6 separate regions of the Homo sapiens genome follow, and regions 1, 2, 3, 4 and 6 are each linked to region 5. Evidence: promoter capture Hi-C in 16 types of primary human blood cells and fetal thymus (Javierre and others, 2016). All regions are on one chromosome and are shown on one strand. The core of a region is centred on a gene start or on the middle of the fragment in contact, and the rest is flanking DNA. Distances in the headings are between cores, read along the strand shown.

What was found. Contacts are between HindIII fragments. The CHiCAGO score rates a contact against its expected background, and 5 or more counts as called.
Region 1: a contact is called between a fragment that was not itself captured here and the fragment with the promoter of CPED1 in region 5, in 7 of 17 cell types (total B cells, naive B cells, non-activated CD4 T cells and 4 more). The highest score is 13.2, in total B cells.
Region 2: a fragment that was not itself captured here is called in contact with the fragment with the promoter of CPED1 in region 5 in 4 of 17 cell types (M0 macrophages, M1 macrophages, non-activated CD4 T cells and 1 more); the score reaches 13.5 in M0 macrophages.
Region 3: a fragment that was not itself captured here is called in contact with the fragment with the promoter of CPED1 in region 5 in 1 of 17 cell types (erythroblasts); the score reaches 5.9 in erythroblasts.
Region 4: a contact is called between a fragment that was not itself captured here and the fragment with the promoter of CPED1 in region 5, in 1 of 17 cell types (total CD4 T cells). The highest score is 5.0, in total CD4 T cells.
Region 6: a contact is called between a fragment that was not itself captured here and the fragment with the promoter of CPED1 in region 5, in 5 of 17 cell types (monocytes, activated CD4 T cells, total CD4 T cells and 2 more). The highest score is 6.2, in monocytes.

What each region holds. Positions count from the first base shown.
Region 1 is chr7:121,351,348-121,354,394 of GRCh38, forward strand. The region is part of intron 8 of FAM3C (FAM3 metabolism regulating signaling molecule C); the gene reads right to left. Among named protein-coding and RNA genes, the nearest start is that of WNT16, 24 kb to the left of the region's middle. The HindIII fragment of the contact is 1,388 bases long and covers 985-2,372 here.
Region 2 is chr7:121,382,999-121,385,997 of GRCh38, forward strand. FAM3C (FAM3 metabolism regulating signaling molecule C) reads right to left here. Exons shown (of 10, transcript NM_014888.3): 2 at 1-12. Among named protein-coding and RNA genes, the nearest start is that of FAM3C, 12 kb to the right of the region's middle. RefSeq lists a silencer at 2,302-2,499. The HindIII fragment of the contact is 2,871 bases long and covers 261-2,999 here.
Region 3 is chr7:121,301,545-121,304,495 of GRCh38, forward strand. No RefSeq gene overlaps it. Among named protein-coding and RNA genes, the nearest start is that of WNT16, 26 kb to the right of the region's middle. RefSeq lists an enhancer at 789-858. The HindIII fragment of the contact is 4,009 bases long and covers 1-2,951 here.
Region 4 is chr7:121,444,621-121,447,589 of GRCh38, forward strand. No RefSeq gene overlaps it. Among named protein-coding and RNA genes, the nearest start is that of FAM3C, 50 kb to the left of the region's middle. The HindIII fragment of the contact is 8,915 bases long and covers 1-2,969 here.
Region 5 is chr7:120,987,348-120,990,557 of GRCh38, forward strand. It overlaps CPED1 (cadherin like and PC-esterase domain containing 1), which reads left to right and starts at 1,364. Exons shown (of 23, transcript NM_024913.5): 1 at 1,364-1,565; 2 at 2,044-2,523. The coding sequence starts at 2,275. RefSeq lists an enhancer at 540-619. The HindIII fragment of the contact is 5,089 bases long and covers 1-2,537 here.
Region 6 is chr7:121,401,970-121,404,800 of GRCh38, forward strand. No RefSeq gene overlaps it. Among named protein-coding and RNA genes, the nearest start is that of FAM3C, 7.1 kb to the left of the region's middle. The HindIII fragment of the contact is 2,744 bases long and covers 1-2,673 here.

The DNA.
Region 1 (3,047 bases), core at 429-2,928, 360 kb after region 5:
AAAACATGAGACAAAATGAGACTTTAAATAACAGAACATTTTGGAAAATAATTTTTTTTCAGAGTTACATTTCTACTGGTTGAATTCTTTAGTGACAAAAGACATGAACTCCAACAATTAATTTTAAGTTTATTCTATTAAAAGGACCTGTTAGGTTTTTATTTCACAACAATTCACCTTCATTTAACTTTTTAAATTACACTCATCAAATAAATAAGGGATACCACAGTTAGTAGATGCCTATCCAGGCTATCCAAGGTCTTAAGCAATCAATATTTTTATAAAATTAATCTTTTTGAATCTCCACTAAACCCTCTGTAAATTACATTTGACCAGAATAAAGGTAAATGCTGACAAAAATCTGTATGTTTCTAACACTATGTTTTATTTAAAAGAAAATGAATTTTGAGAACAGATATATAAATTGTACTTCAGTGATAACTGCCAAGTGGTTACTTAATAAAAATGAAAATATTAACCACACAGCAGCTAAATGCCTACTAGCAGGAGGTGGAGCAGTGACAGAAGTCAACCACCAGGGAAACTACTAATTGAAAGATGTCCCTAAAAAATTTTGTGTAAGTGATCATCCTAATGGTCAATGATTTTCTCTCCTTTATCTCTAAGGAGAAAAGAAACTCAGAACATAAATGGTAGCTATAGAGCTTAAAAAAAGAAGAAGAAGAAAAAATTAAGGGCTACTTGTACACATATTTGGCATTGAGTCCTATATACTGCGCAAAAGACAGCTCTAACAGGTCACTTAGAGAGGTTTGTTCTGCTAAAACCTGAGGCAAGGCAAGTTTATATTTCCAAACAGCAGGAAAGTCAGTGAGGAAGGTACTTATTCATTCTACAGTGTTCTTTCAAACCTCTCATGCTAGTATCAAGTAGCTCCTTTAATATCTTAGTGAAAGAAACACTACATAGAACAGTTCTCATTTAACTAAAGAAAAAGGGATACTCTTATGGTTTTTTTAAAAAAGCTTCATAAAACAGGAAAGAACTACATATATCATTAAACTTTCATGATTGATGCCCACCACATCCGTGGGGGCTGTGGAGCTGTTTTGGCCACAGCCTGGGCACTGCTGTCCACCTGGAGGAAGTTCACTAGAATCAGCAAGAAAATAAGCCATAGCCTGTGGAGCATTTAGCCTTTCAGATTCGCCTCCTATATTAAGTGGTACATTTATAGCCAAGTGAACTAAAAAGAAGTGAAATGACTGTGCAGAAGAACCAATCTCAGCCTCTGTGAAGATTGTGAGGCCTTCACATGAAATCTGTGCATATGCACTGGCTTTCCCTCCACAGTTCCTCTGCAGCTTCGTTTCCTGTGCCCATCCTTACATGAATTATCCATCACTTTCCACTTGTTTGCTCACTTGATAACCAACTTTGGTGCTAGAGGGAAATGCCCCAAAATTATCACCTGAACCTTGTTTTCTTGTTTCCAAATGTTATTGGGATGCCATGGATCTAAAAGGCTGTCAAATTCCACTTGCGTAGTTTATCCAAATGTTCTATTTTCTAACTACCTTATGGAAGTCTACACTTGCATCATCAGCACTAGCGATGAGTTTTGCTGCTGTAACAAGAATAAATAGTATTGAAATGTCTAGAGCACAGGCAGTAGGCTCAGTGGTCAGCTAAATGGACTGCCTCCTGCAGAGAGGCTTTGGGGTTCCATTCACATTTACATCTCAAAAAAATTATGAATTGATACCTCACAGGCCTTTAGGGTGGCTCATAAACAGCTGAAATGATGAATGTGAAGTTCACAAATGTTAAGAGATTGCTTTACACAGGAAAAATTCCCTGCAAAATAGAAGGTTATCCAAACGCAGGTCCAGCTCCCTGCCAAAAGTAAAATCTTATCCAAGAATTTTGCACCAACTAAGAAATATGTTGAAGGGCAGTCAGGCATTCTTATTTTTGTACTCCTGAATTTCAGAAGTGACCATTATGATCTGTATGAATAAACCAAGCTGATTTACAATCAAGCCAGAGATCAAGGAGAAACTTAAAGATTGAGCTTTATGTTTTAACTCCATTAATCTTATTCCTTGCTTTTCCATTAGAAGATACTGAGATCCTGTGCAGATATGCATTAACATAGCAGGCCTGAGCTTAGAAAGGCCTACTAGCAAGACTGACCCTTGGCTATCTGGCCACTTGGATTTGCGGAGGGCTCCTATCATTTTCAAAACTGATAAGAATGGTTCATTGTGTCTAAACTGTGGGCAAAAACAATGCAATTTATGCTGAACACTTGTTTTCTCTCTGGGAGTCTGGTATTTTGCAACAGGTTAGGCAGAGGGTGCCTACATGACCAGCCCCTAATAAAATCTCTGGGCATTGAGTCCCTAATAAGCTTCCTTGCAGACAACATTTCCCATGTGTTGTCCTAACTGGTTGCTGGAAGAATTAAGCATGTCCTGTTTGACTCCACTTGGGAGAAGACTCCTTTGTCCCTCCAGACTTTGTCCCATGAACCTTTTCCCTTTGCTCATTTTGCTTTGTGTATTTTTGCTTTAACAAATCACAACCATGAGACCTACTGGAGAACTGTCAAAACTGGGAGTGGTTTGGGGGACGTCTAACACATAGCCCTGTGTATATCTAACTACAGTTTTATAACAAGATGACTTTGTCAATGACTTCTAACACTTTCTGATCTGCCTATGTAGAATTTGGTTGATTATTTTATTATTATTTTTAGATATCTTCTGTGTAACTAAGTAAAAAAAATCTTTATATTTCAAAAGTTTAAAATCATGTAACATAGCCAGTATTTAATTGAATATACAGGAAATGTCAAAATGCCCCTTTTTTAAAAAAGCCAGGGCAGCAAATATATTTTTATATAGCATAAAGGTTGGAGATACAAGCTTTTTATTCCACATAGGGCACTCTGAGTTTGTTACATATATTTTAATCCTTACTAATGGTCTTAACTAGCTGAGTTAAAAATTTATGTCAAATATATTATTTTAGTGAATAATTTTCTTCAAAATGAACAGAAAATTATCCTGTGATAAACCAGG
Region 2 (2,999 bases), core at 446-2,945, 400 kb after region 5:
ATTAATATGCTCCTAAAAAATCAAAACAAAAAGCAAATATCATTAGCTCTAGAGCAAACATTCCTCCTTAGATTGAGTTTGAAATGGGGCATATAAACTAGTAAATTTTATGACATTTCTAAGTATTATGCCAACATTGGCATTAAAAAAAAAAAAAATGGGCCTGTCTTCCACTGGACCATAAGACCTCAAGGAGGGTCTGTCTTACCCTGCTGTGTCTTCAGCTAACTGAATGACCAAAGAGTAAAAGTGTGTTATCAAGCTTGTGAATAGAAGAGAATGCCTTCTTATTCTCATGGATTATGCATCTATAAGAAACTTTTGATATTTAGCTCCAAACCTTCAGTTTGCAGATGATGTCCAAAGAGGTTAAGCTGCTTATCTAGTTGTGGAACAAATTATTTGTAGACATGGGGCTGGAATTGAGGTCAGCTGGCTCACTCCAGTACATGATGCCACTTCATTTTTGATATGACATAATTCAAGTGCCACTACCATAAGCATTTACAGCAAGGGCTTCCGATTTCAATACCAGGGACCTCTTCATGTTTTTCGATTTAAGTTTGTAAAATAATATGTTAAGAAGTACAGAACTGCAATTTTAAATATCCCAGCAATTATCATGATTGACAGAGTAATGTTAATACATCAAATGGATCAACTGTTCTTTGATATTACTGTAAGATCAACAGGAAACAGATGCTGGAAAAAAATCTGTATGTGCATGGGTGTTTTCCTCCTAAGAAATAACTCAAAATAGGTGACATTTTGAAAAGAAAATGAAAAAATAAGTAAGTTTAATAAGAAAGCCACATTCAAGTTTAGCTGGAGAGCTTCCACAGTCAACTCAACCTATTGTAAAGGAATGGAATTCAAAAGGAAATTTTGATGGATGAATCCCATTTGCCAGCAGTACATATCTATTTTAGATTGTATTTTGATATTTATGTTTCAATATTGTTGCCTGATCTAGTAATTCACAGAATGTGTCAAGAAAATAGTAATAATGGCACATCTCTGAAGGACACTGAAAAGAAGTGAGACATGCACTTTTTTTATTCACTGGACTAGGCAGGTGGGCTTCAGCAGGGTTCTGGGGGGCGGGGGAGTCTGGACAGCTCCCAAAAGTCCAATGCTCTTAGGCTAGCTCTCTTTCTTCTGCACAACATACCCTAAAGAAAAAACAACACTTAAACTGAGTTGTGTGTCATTGATTTCCTTTGTTAATTATCTGAACAGCTTCCACGTAATAGAAAAAGTCAATGTTATATATCTATTTCAACTACCTAGCCACAGGCTAGGAAAATACTAAAAGGAAACAAGATACTGAAGTATCCACAAACCATCACATAAAAGCAGAAAAAAACCTCCGCTTTTTAAATGAAAACCCCAACTGGTTATAAATCCTCTGTTGGCTTCTGGCAAAACTGAACTCAGCTTTCATAACATATACATGCTTTTCCTGCCAGCTAATTTTCCAAAATAACTTCACTCTTATCTGAGTGTGACCTAGGAAAATTTCTTTGAAAGTGTGATAAGCAGTTACGCACCAGGTACTTGATGTTCTATTTCACTGTTTCCATGGCCTGCTCAGGCCACACCTTGCAGTGGATGCTGCATGTACCTGCCACCCATTTGTATCTCCCAACAAACCTGTTTCTAAACTCATCCCTAAGACCACAATATAAGCAATGATGATTGTCTAGCTGAATACAACTGTTTTCCATTAAAATGTCTCAGAGAATTCACATTTAGTAAAATTTCTAAATTAAAATCTCATCAAATTAAATCTCAGCCATAACATGCCTCAATTAATTTCCTTAAGAAGCAAATTAATGATTCAAGAATCTACATCAGGATAGGAGTATTGAATATATTTGAGAGCAAATCAAGGAGCATCTATGTATGATGATAATGTGCTAATTCTAAATCATTCCTATTTGTCTTCTTAGAGGGGGCATGTAAAAGCAAAGAAAATATTTACATACAATTATCTTGTATGGGTGAGGGAAGCAAAAACTTAATGGAAACTTCAGGCTGAAAACCATCAATAATTAAACAAGGATTGAACAGGTCCAGAGAAAAGGAGCACAATAGTAAAGGGAGAAAAAGGCCTTTGCTAGAAATTCAGAACTCTAAATCTAGAGGCAACAGGCGAAAGGGCTTATATATAAGTATGTTCATTAAAAGGTAGAAATATAGATATTAGAGCCACTTACCAAAACCAGAAAATGAGTCACAGAAGGATATTTTTAGGATGGAAAAAAAACCCCAAAACTCAACTTAGTACATTTATACATTTGCTCCAAAAAGTGTTACATAGGCCAAAATTTGTTTTAGTGTTTTTGATAAATATATGTCACTGAACCAAATCCAGTTGCTAATATGTAAGGTTCATAATCACCTGAGATTCAACAGCAAGGACAGCCACCACAATGTCGCTGGACAATGAAACACTGCAGCTGGAAAGAGCGCCTGAACTAGGGCCTCAGATGGACGTACTAAACTTCTTTACATGGTTGACAATTTAAACATTCCTTTGGCCCCACTATCTACTCTGATCTAATTTAGTGAAGTTTTATTACTCAGGTAGAAATCAAGCTACTATGTGAATAAGGAGTCATTGTTCTAGAATAAATTAACTTCAGGAACAACAGAGTAAAATCAAAGGTCAAGTGATACTTCCATTATTTCCTTGGGAAGTGGACTAAATCACATAAACCACAGAAACATCACTCTATATTGACAAAATTGTCATAAAAAATTATTTACCAGGAGGGGGATTTCTTGCCAGTTAACATAAACCAAGTATGAATACATACTTATGTCAGTGCAATTCACACACACCCTTATTTTATGTAATCTTCCCACCAGCCTCTAGTTGCTGGGGGCATTAAAACAGCAGCATATATGAGATCAGGGGATTTCTCTAGGGTCACATGAAGGGTAAGTAAGAAGCTCACGCTACAAACAAATCCACTTCCTTTTCACTCCAGCTG
Region 3 (2,951 bases), core at 72-2,571, 310 kb after region 5:
AATGGAAGCATCCCTGGGAGGGATGCTTGTCAAATACAGTGAAAATAAATGCCTTCCCTTCACCACTGATCATGGACTTGTTATGCTGCCTCTGCAGACAAGAAAGTCAAAACTGTTGGGTCAAAGCCAAACCTTCCCTGGTTTGTGTCTGGGCAGAGTGTGTGTCAAATAAAAGACTTGAAAACAGGAATTCTGGATTATTTTCAAATAAAAACTCATCCATACTGTATAAATACGTGTGTGTGTGTGTGTGTGTATGTATAGATAAAATGTATGCACACACACATACACACACAATGAAATAGATAATGGAGCAGTATCAAATAATCTTATATCCATCGAATTAGTTCCTTTAAAACATTCCTTTTATTTTTTATTTATAGCAGTATGTAAAACCTTTAGTATAACAGGTTCTATATCTCTGGATGCCTTTACCAAGTGCTCGTCTGAACATGTGGGGAATGCACTTCGAGGCCTCCGCCAGGCAGTGACAGAGCAGGGAGGGACGTGTTAGGGGAGATGTTTGCTAGATGCTTTTCTTAAGAGGTGACAAGTAACCCAACTGCCAGAAATCACCAAAATAAGAAGATACTAGGAAATGTTGGACTGTGGAGTCACGAGGGCTCCAAAACTAGAGAGAACGATAAACTATAGTTTAAACTTTAAAACTACAGAGAACTCGGGGAAAGAAAGAGAGCAGGGCAACATTGTACCCTGATGAAAGTAAATGGATCAGTAAAGTTCACTTATGGGAATCACTCTCAGTAGGGACTCTGGCCACATGCCGTGCCTCTGCCCTCAGATCTCACAGGGCCTTCTCACTGGCAAATGCTGAGATGGGTGGCTGAGAGGTAAGTCATATCCCTCAGTATGACTCAGTATGACCCTCAGTATGGCTGAGGGGTAAGTCATAACCCTTAGTTATGCGGCAGCATAACTAAGTCCTGTAAACTGTGGCAGAGGTTCCGCTGGGTGGAGGACACCCAGCACGATCACAGTTCTACAGCTCATAACTTTCTTCCTCCAAATCGAATTTCTAGTTGGCCTCCACCCATTTTCGTTTCCCCTTTTTGACTTAGATGGTTTCTGTGTCCACCTCCATTATTGCATTTTCACGGTATAATTACCTACAATCATCTATTTGATTACCTTGAGCCATTCATCTTTCTACTATCCAATCTCTAATGTAGAGTAGGGGCTCAGCAAACATTGCTCTCTCTCATTCTTTTCTCTGTTCACTACTTCTTAGCTCAGATGCCATCTCCTCTAGGAATCTTTCTCTGATTCCTCATACACTGATCAAAGTATTCTTTCTTTGCATTCCTTTAGCGTTCCCTGTTTACCCCAACCCAGCCATTTTCTCTTTGTCTGTTTAAGTTTGTCCTCCCTAGAATGTAAACTCCATGCGGAAGGGACTGAGTTGTTTGTTTGATTGTGGATATGCAAAATTTTTAACTGTTTTATTGAGATAAAATTTACCTACATGAAGTTCACTCATTTAAAGTGTAAAATTAAGTAGTTTTTGGTATATTTACAGTTCTGCAGTCATCAAGATAATCTAACTTTAGAACTTTTTTATCATCCCAAAAAGAAACATAGCAGTCACTCTTCAACTTTCCCCACCTCCACTCCTCAGACTTCAGTGACCACCAATCTGCTTTTTGTTTCTATGGATTTGCCTACCTTGGATGTTTCATATAAATAAGATCACACAATATGTGGTCTTTTTGGCTGCTTTCCTTCACTTAGCATTATTATGTTTTAATCTTTGCACTCTCAGTTTAGAAACAAATTACCTGGCACAGGAAAGACACTCATGAATTTTTATAAAAAAAAAAAAAACACACAAACAAATGCACTAACAAACTCTAGCATTTTCTGGAGTTAAAAATTGTGCTCGAAATAGAAGTTATCTAAAAGGCTTTGACAACGCACTATGTTAGAAATAGTATTAATATCATCATTTCCTGATACCCTGTTTAGCAAGTACCAAATGTTTGTTCCCATTGTTTATATGTATTATTTGTAACTGTTTTATTGAGATACAATTTACCTACCATGAAGTTTACTCATTTAAAGCATAAAATTCAGTGGTTTTTAGTATATTTACAGTTGGGATTGAGGTAGAGTACGAAAGAAGTAGTTGGGGAAGATGTCAGGTACATGTGGAAGTTGTCCTCCTGGACTCAATGGGGAGGCTGCTAGAAGTTCAGGGAGCTGCTGACACCCGGTGCTGGGCCCTGAGGCTTGCAGTTTGCACAGGGCTATGGTGCTTCAGGCCTGCTCTTTGCTGTACCCCTATACCTCGCTCATCTCAGAAGAAGCAGATGTTCTTTCCACCCTGCCCCTAGCAAAACTGGAAAGGATTTGATGAAGTTATGCCCATGTCTAAATGAACCATATCTCAAGCCCTCATAACTGAAGTTTTAAGAGAGGACAAAGTAAGACATTTCTAGTTGTGGAATTTCAGGTATCGGCTAGCCAGAAATGAGACTATTAAAAGAAGCAGGGAGTATCACATAACTTATCTGGAAGAGTCTGCTATTTTGACACCAAAAATTGAGGAGCCAGGAAAAAAGCTATACTGATTGCCCCATTTAGAGATGTGAGTTATTGGAGCCTAAAGTATATGGGAAGATATTCATGCAGGCCCTGCCCTTCCAGCATATAGACCAATGGGCATGGCTTCTGATCCATACAAATATTTCTACTTGCTTTCTTTTTCTACCATACTATCACCAAATGCAATATTAATGCAACATCAAAATTCATTTTTACATTATAAATCTTCCCTTAATTTTGTATATGATAAGCGCTTACAGATGCAAATCATGTTTAAATAGAAGACATAATGGTTAAAAGAAGTATGCCATATTGTAATAATTTTGCAAACAGCTGTTTCAAGTTAGCATGTGTGTATTCCCAGTCTTGTGTATATGAGATACAAGTTA
Region 4 (2,969 bases), core at 179-2,678, 460 kb after region 5:
GCAATTTGTTGACTAACTTGATCACGGTAAAGAGTCAAATTGGATAATTAGATTCCAAAGTGGATTTTGGGGGGACCTAATTTTCCTATTTGGCTGCCTAACAGTATCAAAATAACTGCTAATTGCCAAATCTCTCTCTCCCTTCTCTGTATGCTTAGCCAATATTGCTGTAGTGCATCAAAAAAAAAAAAAAAAATGCTACCATTGCTCAGTCCACCTGTGCATCTCCTAATAATTAAATAGTGCACTTGTAGAAATTTTTTTTGGTTGGGGGGAGGTGGGAGACAAGAAGATTTACACATATAGGGACTAGTCATAGCCTATAGTTAAGTGTCTAGCTCCAGAACCTGAAGCACAATGGTTTCTCCTAAGTGAAATTTAGGACTGTAGGACCAGCTGTAAGCTGAGACCTCCAAAATCTGCATTGGTCAGCGGTCCCCAAATTTTGGGCAAAGGGAATCACTTAGGAATCTGTAATAATACTGATATTTGGTTGCCCCTAACTCTACCAGACATGATGATTTAATTGGTAGGGGATGAGAATAGGAATCATACAATTTCCCCAAGTGATTCTAATGTGGAACAAAGTTTGGCAACTCCTGAAATTTGGTCAATATCATCGTAAAATATGCTAGTTTGTTAGGTTGATTTTTTGCAATGGTTGGGCCTAAGGCAATGTGATCAAGATTGCAGGCACTTGGATCAGACAAGCTGCTTCTTAATCTTGCTCAACCTCTGCTGGTTCTGTCTATGTCCACAAACTGGCCAGGTAATTTTGTTTAGTTTCAGCTTTCTTATTTGTATGATAGAGATAAATGTGCCCACCTCATAGTATTGTTCTGAAGATGAAATGTGTTTGGAAGGTTTTGGAAAATTGTTGGCATGAAATCTGGCACCCAGAACTTGATATATTCTAGCCATCATTATATGTTGTTAGGATTTTGAATCTATATTTTATTTTATAAGACAAAAGTCGCTGGGCACAGTGGTTCACGCCTGTAATCCCAGCACTTTGGGAGGCCGAGATGGGTGGATCACCTGAGGTCGGGAGTTCGAGACCAGCCTGATCAACATGGAGAAAACCCGTCTCTATTAAAAATACAAAAAATTAGCCAGGCGTGGTGGCACATGCCTGTAATCCCAGCTAGTCAGGAAGCTGAAGCAGGAGAGTCACTTGAACCTGGGAGGTGAAGGTTGTGGTGAGCCGAGATCTCGCCATTGCACTCCAGCCTAAGCAACAAGAACGAAACTCCGTCTCAAATAAAAAAAGAAAAAGATCTTTGAATAAGTCATCTGAGGAAGTTACCATAGGCCTTCCTTTACTTATTTTCTAAAGATAACATAATAATTATATTTTTCTTTTATATTACAAAATTAATTTCTGCAAAACAAAGCAGAATATATACCATTTATCACAACTCTTTTCTTCAACACTGTTTCGTTCTATAAAATGGAAATGAAAGTCCTGTACAATAGCAGTCACTAGCTAGCATCTAATTTAATTATCTTTATAGCATCTTTCATAAAACTAAGTCAGTAGGAGGCCATAAACAGAGAATTTAGGAAATTTTATTAATCTCCTGGGTAATAATATAGACATTTTCCTTGAATTCATAATGTCTCAGTGGGCTTTTGATTAGATATGCAACTCAAGTCACATGGATGATAACACATTGAGAACTTATGGTTGATGTGATCACTAAACATAGACTGTGAAGGTCAACAATTTTATTGCCAATTCCTCATAGCAGCTCTATCTCTAAAATCATATGTATAATGCAACCAACTTACTCTAATGCAAAATACCCACATTCTATTTTCATGTGTTATTTTCTTTTGATTTTTAAAATGTACTAAACCAATGTAAAAATAAAATTATGTATGCTTAGCCCACCTTGGGCAAAAATGCAGTTTTGCCGGGGAGTGAGGTAGGAGTAGAGAGATGGGTGTCCCGATTAAGAAGAAGATTAAAGGGAGTTTCAGGCAACTCTCTAAGGAAAGTCTATGCTCTACTCCTAAACTTCTCTAATGCCTTGGATGTGTAACCAGAATCCTGAAATACTAGTTTCACAGCTAGCAGGCGCCTACCACCATTAGGTTTGTTGCTTCTCGCTGAGGCAACTCTAAGTTGATCCCAGCATGCTGTGCAAATATAATCAGCTTTCATGTGTGTCATAATGCAAAAAAACATGGGACGCCCTGCTTACATAGCACTCTTTTTTTTTTCAGTGAATGTTATCATTATAATTAAAGTGTCTTTGGGTATAATCTTGGATGATTCTAATACTCAAAGAACAAAAATGAAGAATTCCTGACCATTTCACAAACTCATCCAATTTTAAGATGTTCTTTTTGGTTATGAAGGAAAACACAATTAGAGATTGTTGTTCAAATTATATGATAGATGACTCTGCAGTACATTATAGTATCAAAAATCTGGGCTTCCTTAGCTTTGGAGGGCTATTATCATAACAGTTGGATGATTCATTTAGGTCAGAAAAATCCCATTTCAGAATATTCTTGAAAAAAAATATAATTAATATAATTCCACTCAGATTTGAGAACATTTGGTTTATTTCTAGCTACAAATAGTTTCCTCTATACCAGAAAATAAATTATTTACTTCTTTTCTCTAGGTTTATGTGTTGCTAGGTTTCATTCGAACTTTATTTCAACCTTAAGAATAAATTGGGAAGAAAAAATATGTTTAGGGTGGGGACTGAAATAAGTAATGTAGAATTCCAAATCAGTTAGAGTAAAAAAATTCAATGGCTTGGGGACAGGATGTGATATAAATAGAAAGACCATGGGAAGATTGCCCAGAAGCCAGAATTTGGGTTCAAATACTAAAATTTTAGAACTGAAAACAACCTTTGAGATTTTAAATGAGGAAGTGAAGGGTCACAAAATATTGTAGATTATAGCTCAAGAATAGAGTGAAATTGTGTATTTTAGTAATAATACCTTCA
Region 5 (3,210 bases), core at 114-2,613:
TAATAGAACTGTCTGCCTATTCCTTATCACTCAGTAACAGCATTGTCACACCCTGGATTCCAATTTAGAAATCTCACAATTCTTATTATCTCTCAAATCACATTGCATCCACCAAAACGATATGTCCTACAACACCACTGTTCAGCCATTTTCTCTTAAAACTCTTTTGGCTTCTAAAAGTGAAGCATCACTTTATTTTTCTCTATCCCATTTGTCATAAGATTAAGGACTCTGAACCTATACATAAAATAATATTAAAGCCACTGGAGGCGATACATGCAAGGGCTTGGGATAAATCCAGCTTCCGTGTGAATATTTCTTCTGTAATGTGTTAATTAATTTGTTCTATAGGATGTTAAAAGGGTTTCTTTCTCACAAGCAAGGAACTCTAGATGCCCATTTCTCTGAATCTGTGCTAGCTGGGCACCCCTAGGGGGCGCTCCGTCTCTCAAAATACAAGGGGCTGACAGCAGCGTGCCTCTGGGTGAGGCTCACTCTAGGGGTGTGGCCTCACGGAGAACCTCAACCCACAAGAGTTTGGCTTAGAAACAAGTTTGAAAACCTCTTCAGGTCCAGAGCCTTTAAATAATGCCTGCTATGCGCTAAGACAGCCCTGGGTATCCAGAGTTCACAAAGCAAGGACTGATTTCCTTTCGCCTTGACAGCCTCAGCAAAAGTGGAAGGGGGTTTGCAGAATTGCACTATTAGCAGCGTCCACCCGAAGGTCTGCACAGAATTAGACTGAGCTGATTCTGGACAAAGCCCACTGTGTACCTTTATCTACTGGGCAAAAGTTACCCCCAACACCTGCTATAATCGACTCATTTTAGGAGCAAAATGTCAGGCCATGAAGCATCAGATCATTGAAAGACCCAATTAATTAGTCCAGGAAAGGAGTAATAAGAACATCTGTGATCTGAGTTCCATACTAAGACACAGAGAGACGACTGAGTTATTCTGGTGCTTGCTGTCTGAGGTCCAGACAGTACTTGTGACCCTCTTATCCTCAGAAGAGTAACCACAATTCCCTGGAGTGAAGAATATCCCAATTCACTCATGGAGTTCACTTTAGTCTCATTCTCGACCTTTGTCACCAATTGGCTAAGGCTATTTGTTTTTCCAATTCTGTATTAGGAAAAAGAAGTTGCACAGAGGATCAGACATCAGATACGTTTCTAAATTCTGCAGCTCTGGGTGGGCAGCCTCATTTGGGGAAATGCTAGCTGCTGTTTCCAAAGTGGGGAAGCCCACGGTTTCGGACACAGGGCTGACAGCGCTGCTCCAGCAGCCCCCAGGGCCAGAGGAACCCGGCCTTAGCTCCGCCCCGCTCTGCCCGGCCCCGGGTGGCTGCGATGCCGAGGTCCTCTGCTCCCGCCGGGCGTGCAGCGGGCGCGCGCGCGTGTGTTTATGTGTCTGTGTGCGTGTGTGTGTGTGTCTCTCTCTGTGTGTGTGTGAGATGAATTGGAGTCATACGACTGGGTGTTTCCTTCCGAGTGGTTTTCATCAGCAATCCATTAGGAAATCATGGAAACTTTTTTTTTCCTGGCTAAAAGGATGAAAACTGAGTAAGTACATAGAACTTTGAACTTGAGACGGAATGAAACAAATTCAAGCAAAAACCCTGACAGTAACCATGTCCATTCAAATTGCGTATGCCCTTTTTATGTTAAAAGCCGTGAATACTTACAGGACAGTGGGAATTTAAAACTAAATGAAGGGAAGCATACAAAAGGCTGAAAGCAAGACTGCTTTAAAACCGGAGGAAAATTGAGGAACTGCTAAGGCAACCTGGCCTGAGTTCAGCTGTGCAACAGGCACTTTGGGTTTTAATCTTTTGCGTTCTTCAATGCTGTTTTCAGACTCCAGATATACTTTGGTATTGTTTTCTCTCTTCCTGCAAAGCTGAGGCAGAGTCGGACTCCTTTACTGTGAGTTGAAAGATGTGAGAATAAGGCATTGCTGGAAGCAACAGTTTGGCAGCCTGGGGTACACTCAGGTTATTCGTTACAACTATTATTATTTGATGTCTTTTTTTAAACTCAGGTCATCCACTTTTGACTGTCATCCATGGAAGAGCTCTTATTAAAAGCCTCAGACTTTCGGGACCTATGATTCTTTGGCACAACCTTTTGGAAAATTCTTAAGCAGGGATGAAGCAAACTTGATTGGAGTTGGGGAAAAAGAAGACAGATTAGTATTTTTCATGCTGACAAAAAATAGCTGCTATGACTTTTCCCGCAACGTGGACAGGGGCCAAGTGAAGCTGAACTGGTCATGGTCTGTCGCCCAGTGTTCCCTTGTCGTCGGCGATTTTGCCCCCGACCCTTCTTGGTGGGCTTAGTGGTGGCAATCTGTCTCTTCTACCAGACTCTGACCCTCCGAGGGTCGAGGAAGCTCACAGCCGCTGCCCCTGGGGCTGTCCCACACACATCCACTGAAACCCAGGCAAGCAGATGCAAGAAAGGATTCTCTCAGGACAAACAGTGCTTCCTTCTCTCTGGTAATGCCCAGGAAACCAGAAAGGTAAGACTCTCATAAGCTTAACGGAGACAGTTTCTGCAAAGACAGCAATCTGCTTCTCTGTCCTTTCTATAAAACTAAAATTAACTTCCATGAGGTCTGAAAGGGATCCAGAGTGTAAACAGCCTAGAGAGTGACCTGATGACTGGGAAACACGTTACATAAGCTTCAACTTCTTATAGTTACTTCCAGAAAGTTCTGGCATTACTTTATCTCTTAGGATTTCACTTCATTTCAGTGGAATGAAGTAGACAGTTTGGAGGAGGCATAAAATGATGTGGATTCTTTCTAAAATATCAGTATTCTAAGAGATCTGAGGATTTACAATTCAAAAACATAAATCAAAGTTTCAAAAACTTTGATAAACCTTGAGTGTCTCTTTTCTCAAGGCAGTCAGTATGAGTGCCCAGACCATTCCAGACTCAAAGATTCTCCAAAGTTTCATTTTGTAACTAGCTAGATTGATTCTTAATTGGTGACCACATTTCTAAAGCAATATATTTACTTCGAAAGCATTAAAATAATAGGATAATAGGTTTCTTCAAAAGAATTGATACAATGTATTTTATTGTTTATAGGATCAGGGAAATACAGATTATTCTATATTTATACTATTCAGATAAACTTACTAATCTTACTTGTCAAATATTGAAAAAAAACACAAAAAGCACACAAAGTAACACAGGATTT
Region 6 (2,831 bases), core at 52-2,551, 410 kb after region 5:
TCAGAGAAGAAGCAACTGAACAAATACTGAAAAAAGTGTCTGTTTTCCTACAACATAATTGCTTAAGTCTGTAACTTCAGTTCTTTATTAAGAACTGACTATGGGAACCCTTTAGTCTAAGCACAAAAGGACTCACTGTGACGACGGCATTTTTATTAAACATTAAGATCTCTAGTTACATTAAATTGGAATGCATTGTTTGCTTTGAAAGGCAAAACAGTAGAAATATGAGTAGCAAAACATCATTCAATTGTTAGTATTGCATAAAGACCCGTTCTCTGGTGAATTTCATGGTCACTACAGATAGTTCAGCAACACACTCCAGCAGGCCAAAATCCCATGTGGTCATAACAAGTCTAAGAAATATACAATAGAAAAACAAACACAAAATAAATATATATGTATATGTATATATACACTGCATATTGTTATTGCAATCTTTGTGTGCTTTTTCAGGTATTATATAGTCTCATAAATTTGTTGGCTATTTTTCCTAATATGACTTATTTCAATAATACTTGTTCCAAGGAATTAGATGGAAACATTGGAATTCTAGACAATGACATTGACCTTCAAAACTTACAGGCTGGCAGTATTTTATGTGCAACAATGCTTTTCCCTGATGTACCTGTGACCTAGATAGGAAGCTGGAATCAGCCTAACCTTCCAAATATGTTTCACTAACTGCATTTCCAATTCTAGGTCACTCTCCCACCCCTCACCACCACACAAAAGGTACCACATCTGTACTATTTTGAACTTGTTTCCTGATTAAATAGGAAAGGTTACTTATGAATCCCTAAGCTGCTCATTTTTTGCACTTTTATTTTGAAATATTTTCTGTAGAACTGTTGTGGCCTTGCTGAGGCTTGGACATATTTTTAAGTGTAATTTATTTACTCAGAGAAGCTCTGCTCAAATATAGCATCTGGTATTTCATAGCGTTTTATCCAATAGTCAAATTTTCCATCTCTATTCATGAAGCCAAAACCAAGAAAACTGCTCACTTTACTTTGAAAAATCAAGCATGGGGAATTAACTAACTTTCAGATTCTATAGATTCCAGGATAATCTCACCTTCTGAAATTCCCCATCTCTTCATCTTTTCTACACCTCCAGGCCACCCTGCCCCCGATCATTGTTGAACTCATTGAAAGGACTGAAGTGAGAGGGTTGGACTTGAAGTCAGACAGATAATTTGGATCTTGGTTACATCTATTAATTGATTCTAAGTGACCTCAGCCCAGGTGCTTAGTCTGTCTAAACCAGTTCTTCCCTGTAAATGAGAACAATAGCAATCCTCTCACAGATTTTTAGTTAGTTTGTTCCATTTTGTTTTGGTATTGGAGAATGTTTAGTATAGTTTTTAGTATTGGAGGTGCAATTCATTTGCCACATCAGATCTATGGTCCCAAATAATTCTTAAATGCCATTACCCACCCTCCCCTGATTTGCATGCAAAACTTTGGTGAAGTATCTGCTTATCAGCTCAAGCCGCCAGTTGTCCTAGAACTCATTTGCACGGTCTTACTTCAGCACTAAGACATGGGACTCCTTTTGCAGAATTTTTTATTTTATTTTATTTTATTTTTACTTTTGTTGTTGTTGTTGTTCTTTTCTACACTACTACCCTTCACACACAGCCTTCACTGATTCATAGGAGCTGACATTTTCCACCTCCTCATTTCCATTGCTTCCATCCAGCCCAGCAGAACTGTCATCTCTCCATCACCAGTGGTACACCTACTGAGTGCTCATACTCATTACTGGTCCATTTGCCTTCTTCCAGGACTCCAGAGGCCACATGCTTCACTCTTTGCACCTGTATCTGAACAACCTAAGCTGCTTACTCTCCCAAATCCTCAACTCAGATGACAAATCCTCTCATAGTTTTTCACAGTTCCTTGAGGGAGACAGAACTTTTAATTGGAGCTTCTCATTCATGGTAGATCTCACCAAGGGCTTAACATATGATTCCATTTTCATGCTTCTCACTTGTTATCTTTGAGCATTTCCTGAAATAGTGATGGAATATTTCCAGCATCTGAATAGAAGCAGGTACACAGATGATTTCTCCACAAGTCTATTAAATTAATAAATTAATTTGCTATACAGGACAATTTGGAATCATACATGACCCCTGAAAATTTGAAATACATCTCACTTTCAAGAGAATACACACCTCCTGGCAACCACTAACCTGTTATCCATCACTATCGTTTTGTCATTTTAAGAATGTTATAGAAATGTTATCACGCAGTATGTAGTCTTTTGGGATTGGCTTTTTTCATTCAGCATAATTCTCTTAAGATTCACCCATTTGTTATCCTCAAGGCTAGGAGAGAAGAGAGAAGAAAGTGGGTGTGTTTTCAAAAGGGCATCATGAGGGATCCTGGCGGCAATAGAATAGCTCTGTGTCTCAGCTGTGGTGGTGGATACACAACCAACACAGGGGATCAAATTACATAGACCAAAATCATACACACAAATCAGTGCTATTAAAACTGGGGACATCTGAATAAGATAAGTGGATTTTATCTCTGTGGGTATCCTGGTTGTTACATTGCACAATAATTTTATAAGATGTTACCATTTGAAGAAACTGGATAAAGGGTACATAGATCCATTACTGCTTAGAATTACATGTGAATCTATAATGATCTAAAAATAAAAAGCTTAATTAAGAACACACCAGAGGGACTTATGACTAGCAGAGTAAGACAGCATACTTGAAGAATCGTGTAATTTGAATGTCAGATTTTGACAGAGCTTAAGGGATTTTGCACCTGCCATTTTAAAGATTTCAGATAGTACATATTATGCAAAGTGCC